Regions from separate parts of the Homo sapiens genome. Here region 1 is linked to region 2. The links are contacts of gene promoters, found by promoter capture Hi-C in human tissues and cell types (Jung and others, 2019). All regions are on one chromosome and are shown on one strand. Each heading gives the region's core, a stretch centred on a gene start or on the middle of the fragment in contact. The rest is flanking DNA. Distances are from core to core; before and after follow the strand shown.

The links. The method cuts DNA at HindIII sites, captures the fragments that hold promoters and counts their contacts. A contact is called where the count stands out against the background at its distance.
Region 1: a contact is called between a fragment that was not itself captured here and the fragment with the promoter of CCDC30 in region 2, in 1 of the 25 tissues and cell types used here (pancreas).

The regions. Positions count from the first base shown.
Region 1 is chr1:42,502,723-42,505,710 of GRCh38, forward strand. The region is part of intron 6 of CCDC30 (coiled-coil domain containing 30); the gene reads left to right. Among named protein-coding and RNA genes, the nearest start is that of CCDC30, 41 kb to the left of the region's middle. The HindIII fragment of the contact is 3,216 bases long and covers 1-2,988 here.
Region 2 is chr1:42,461,962-42,464,841 of GRCh38, forward strand. It overlaps CCDC30 (coiled-coil domain containing 30), which reads left to right and starts at 1,325. Exons shown (of 21, transcript NM_001395517.1): 1 at 1,325-1,937. It also overlaps a transcript of PPCS not described here. RefSeq lists a silencer at 1,222-1,271. The HindIII fragment of the contact is 7,916 bases long and covers 1-2,880 here.

The DNA of each region.
Region 1 (2,988 bases), core at 246-2,745, 41 kb after region 2:
CCACTAAAGTACTTTCTGCCTTTGAATTTGGCTATCTTGTACATTTTACATAAGTGGAACCATACAATATGTGGACATTTGTGTCTGCCTTCTTTCACTTAGCATAATGTTTTCAAAGTTCATATTGTAGTATGAATTAGTACTTTATCCCTTTCTGTGGCTGACTATTTTATTGTATGGATTTTCTTTTTGAGACAGGGTCTCACTCTGTCACCCAGGCTGGAGTGCATGCTCACTGCAGCCTTGACCTTCCAGGCTCAAGCAATTTTCCCACCTCAGCCTCCTGAGTAGCTAGGACTATAAATGCGCACCACCACACTCAACTAATTTTTGTGATTTTTTAGTAAAGACAAGGTCTGGCTATGTCACCCAGGCTAGTTTCAAACTCCTGAGCTCAAGCAATCATTCCACTTGGCCTCCCAAAATGCTGGGATTATAGACATGAGCCAGTACACCCCACCCTTAGTGAAGTGGCATTGTTGTCAGGGGTAAATACCTGGGGTTCGTCATCTTACACTAAGAAGATTAAAGACAGAGACACACGTGGGTGGGCTAAGGAGTGGAAAGTTTAATAGGCAGAGGAAAAGAGAGAGGAGAGCAGCTTTCTCTTTTGTGAGAGAGAGGGGCATCCAAAAGATAAAAGCTGGCCTGCAGCAGACTGCATCAGATTTTATAGGCAAGCTTGAGGAGGCAGTGTCTGATTTATGTAGGGCCTACAGATTGGTTCAACTAGGTGTGACGTTTACATAGCATGTGGGGAAGGCTTGTCACCCCACCCTAATCTTAATATGCAAATGGGCTTTCTACTTGGCCAGCGCCATCTTGTCTGCTCCATACTGTACACGTGGCTGGCAAAGAGAAGAGAAGATGGAGCTGCCATTTTGATCATGCCTAGTCCCAGGTAGCCTTTTCCTATTGGCACAACTGCTGGCATTCACCTTTGCAAGCTTCCAGCTTATTTGTCTATGTCTGCAGCTCAATTTTACAGGCTGCTCTTTGTTAGAGAAGAAAATGATTTGGGGGCTGCTTTTCATTAAAATTAAAACCTTAATGAGGACTTCCTTACCCTCACTATCTGCCTAAATAATTTCTTTTTAACTCCTATCTTATTCCCCCCTCAGGAGTGGTAACCCTAACTGTGGAGACCAGCTCAGTCAGGGAGACCCTCACCCAGTGGCGCTAGAGGAATTAAAGACACACACACAGAAATATAGAGGTGTGAAGTGGGAAAGCAGGGGTCTCACAGCCTTCAGAGCTGAGAGCCCCGAACAGAGATTTACCCACATATTTATTAACAGCAAGCCAGTCATTAGCATTGTTTCTACAGATATTAAATTAACTAAAAGTATCCCTTATGGGAAACGAAGGGATGGGCTAAATTAAAGGAATAGGTTGGGCTAGTTAACTGCAGCAGGAGCATGTCCTTAAGGCACAGATCGCTCATGCTATTGTTTGTGGCTTAAGAATGCCTTTAAGCGGTTTTCCGCCCTGGGTGGGCCAAAACATGAGGGCATGTTCCTTGCCCTCATTCCGGTAAGCCCACCACCTTCCAGCGTGGGCATTATGGCCATGATGAACATGTCACAGTGCAGCAGAGATTTTGTTTATGGTCAGTTTTGGGGCCAGATTTCAGGGGGCTTGTTCCCAACACCTGTTATCAAGGGGTTTTAGGTGATGACTCTTTCTCACTACTTTCTGCAGAAAAGGGGTGCCCTGTGGAGAACACCAGCTGGGGCTTCTCTTAGGGTCCTCAGAAGAAAGGCATGTCGATGCATGGTTCTGTCTGCAGCACCATTTGGAGTTTGATTGCTATCTGCCATTCCAATGGGTTGTAATACTCATTTGCCTCCACCAGATGCTGCTGAAATGTTAATAGTGTTAATATAAAAGTAACATTAACAAATGTTAATAATGTTAGTATAAAAGGATAAGTGGCATTGGATTTGGGTGGCTAGAGTAACTAGTGTTAACCTTGGCTAAATCTTTCCTGCAATTATTAATTCTTTTGTGACTTCCACAGACCGTTTATGACATGTTTAAACTTTCTGACTTTTCCTAAACATCCCTCTTTTTAAACAAGCAGTTATTCTCTTCAGGATAAAATTTTACCATACAAGATCCTTTCTTATATAAAATCTATTTTCTTTATAAACTTCTTTGCATAGCTAGGGTGTGACATATTACCAAACCCAATAAAAAGTCCTGGTGGACTCAGCAATAGTGAAACCTTCATGTTTACCTCTTGTCAGTAGCTATTATTCCTGCTATAAGGATAATAATTAAGCAAAATACTACAGCAGTGGAAACTCTCTGTCCAATATTTCAGTTAGAAGGTGCTACCATGTATAACTCTACCACAAATAGTAGAGTGTGTGTAGCGATTCCCACAAGGGTGGTGTAGTAGATCATTTCCATCTAAAATTTTAGTTGCCAAGATATAGAATTTCCCTTTTGGAAGGTCTATGAAGTTCCTTGGTTTTATTTTCCTAAAGAAATTTCTGCGTTATGAGCAACCTACTCACTTTTATTACATGGCAGGATTTGCAGGATAATTGGCCAGAACTATCTGGCCAATTATTTGCAGGATAATTGATCCAGATTTTTACATTACCCATACATTTTTCTTTTTCCCAAGCTGCAGGAAATCATTACTTGATTCACAAGAATAAGCAGGGCTAGCCTAAAATGTAGGGAAAAAAAACTTAAAAATAACCAATGAAACTAGAATTTAATGACAAATGTATAAGTTTTGGAGCATAATTTTTTTCTCTCTAGTCCTCATTTTCAGTAAAAACAAATTATGATAGGACCATGTTGTTTGTAGAATAAAGTTTAGTCATATACTTGGCCTGATTATTTGCATAAAGTGCAACAAGAATAATTATTTCTACATAGGCCTTTTGGATTGGATTTGATGAAACTCTGTTCCAGGAGGAATCTCAAATAATACCTTTTAAAGCCAAGTCCAGCCATGGGTTTTTATCCTTA
Region 2 (2,880 bases), core at 75-2,574:
TTCTCTGCATTCATAGCTTTATGTGGATGATGACTGTCATCTTTGAATGTACAATGGGGATATATGGGGTTAAAAGTAGAAGTGATCTTAATGTTTGTCTTTACCATAATTATTACCTCCCTTGGGAATTTTATATCCTGTCTTGTTAACGCTTAAAAACAATCAGTGTTCTACATGAAATTATTTAGTGTTTTCCACTTCAGTTTAATTTATATTCAGAGCACTTAGATTATTTACACAAGTAAAAATTCCAGGGGGGTGGGGGAGAGTGTGTGTGTGTGTTTTAATAGCAAATGGAAGTGTATAAAGAAAAGGAACATGAGTCAATGAGGGTAACTAAGAACCTGATCTTGGATGGAGGATCAAGGAATGTCTCCCTGAGTAGGTGATACTTAAACTGATAAACAGGAGTGAAGTGGGCTACAAGTGCTGGTGGTGAGCCTTTTAGTTCAGAAAAAAACACTTGCAAGAGGTCTAGTGCCAGAAGGAGAGGTTGAGGCACTTTATTATATAAAGAGTAAAATACGTCCGGATAATGCATGTAGAACCAGCAAAAATTTGTGAAGTATTCTCTTGGGGAACTAGAGTAAGACCAAGAAATGTTGTGTTTGGGATACCAGCAAAGCAAGGGCCCCCAAAACATGACTAAAATCGAGTTTGATAATTAACTAGAATTTTGCAATAAGAGCATCTAAAAAGATGATATAAATTGAGTATGTTAAATTTTGTGTCATTTATAAGTTTTTATTTTGCATTACATAGGTGGGGAAGATAACGTTCATCTTACCTGAATTTTCAGTGCTTAGGACTTCTAAAGGGCTTCAGCCTTAGGGACAATTCTAGTCAAGCCCAGTTTCTTCCTTTTTACAATAATAAGCTGGATCCAAAAATTGTGATTTATCTTACGTGCCCCACGTGGCTAGTGACACGATCTAGGCCTAAAATTCAGAGCTCTTGAGCTAGCACTTCCTGCCCCTTTAAGAATGAAGGAACTTGTAGAAAAATAAATCCAAGGTTAGTAGGCAGGGGCTCCAGCTGAGTCCTGGCGGGAAGTTCTTTGAGAGCTAGAACGCCCCAAGACAAAATGTATTCGCTAAGTCGCAAACGCTCGACATGTTACCATGGTTACAGCTGTCTCCAAAGCCAATGGAATGAGTTGTACTATCGATACGGCCGGGACAACTCCGCCCCCGACCCGAAGGCCAATGGTGTGAGACATAATAACAGTCTCCACAAGAACCACAGTCTCTGGTTCCACTGGCGTGCGTCGTCTCTATGGTTCCCGCCGGAAGGACGCGTCTGCGTCTCTGCGGCGAGCGCGGTTGCTATGACGCCCAGGTCTCCGTAGGCACCTGCAGCTAGCAGCTGAGCGCGTAGGGGCCGAGCGACCCCGGGACGCTCGCGGCACCCTCCGCAGGAAAATTTCCGACTTGGTTCTTGAGGTTCCTGCCTCAGCCCCAAGGAGGAAAGCACCCATTCTCCCCTCTTTTCCGCATTACGGGCCTTTTCTGCTTCTCCCCAGTATGGTCCGAAACTACAGGAGGGGAACCCCTCCTGGCCCGGCCTTTCTATTCCCTGGCTGGAGTGATTCCGCCTGAAGGAGAATTCGCCCGTTTTCCCCGGACCCAGCTGCCACAAGCATTTAGTATTAGGCTGCCGCTTATTATTAGAGCGGGCTTAGAACATCCTCAGCGAGGTAGGTCGGCGTTCCTTTTCTCACTTAAAGGTGAGGTGTCGAGACGCGCCCCTGGACAGACAACGCCCGAAGGTCCAGGCCACTACGAAGTCCACGGAGGGGCAGCTTTCCCCTACGTGTAGGCCCGCGAACAAAGAACTACCGTTTTCTGATTTTTTTTGGCCGATGTTCGTCATGCAGAACCTTGAATCCCGATGAAGATTTGGAGGCCTTTTGTATCCTCAACATCAGAGGTCATGAAGTCAGTTACCTTCTGCCTTTCAAGCTACAACTTTTTCCACTTCTCTCATCACTCCAAGCACCAGCTTTCTCATCCTGCTTATTTCACAGCCATTTTAACTTTTCCCTGTTCACGCTGCACATTATTGAATGTCCATTTGTCTGCACCACCTCTGTCATCTATAGACCACCTCCTTCTGCTTTCCTGCTACAATGCTTTGCGTACCTAAGTATTTCGCATTCTCCAGCTCTGCAGTCATTGGGAAGATTTTCTGTTTTTCTTTGCACTATGGCAACCTTTCAGTCTTGGGTAAACTAGAGACTAGGAGAAGTGCAAATTGGTAAATATAAACATTAAATACTGTAGGTCTAGTGTGTTTTGAAAATGGAAAAAAAAATCAAAATTGCAGTATTGGACCCATTTCAGGCTTACATAATGAAAGAAGGTTGTTCCTTGTTTCATTAAATTTTATTGATGTGTTTATCAATGTGAAAAGGGCATTCAAAGTGATCATGTAAGACAGGATTTCAACTTTAAGCCCATATGAACCCAACACTGGGGATATGATGTAATTTTCTGGAGAGGAGATGATTGAAATAGTACTTGTGCCTTCTTTTCCTGTCAATTTCTGAATCAGAAAACATTCTTTGTGATGTAAGCCAATAAATGAAAACAATAAGGAGTGATTGAAAATAAATATTTTTGGCAAGGGAGCAGACACAATTGTTCTAAAAAGGCTGGAACAGAGGGCCTTAAATATGGCATAAGATTAATTTAGATCCAGTGCAATTTTATTTTAGCTTGGAAAGCTTGACTTAATTTGTCTTACAATACGCATTCCTTGTTGAATCTTACTATTTCTTCTTCAGTATTCAGGTTTAAAAGTAAACCTATTTTGAGGACATACAGAACATACACATTTTAAACAGCTATTTGGGGCTACAATGATTTGGATATTTTGATT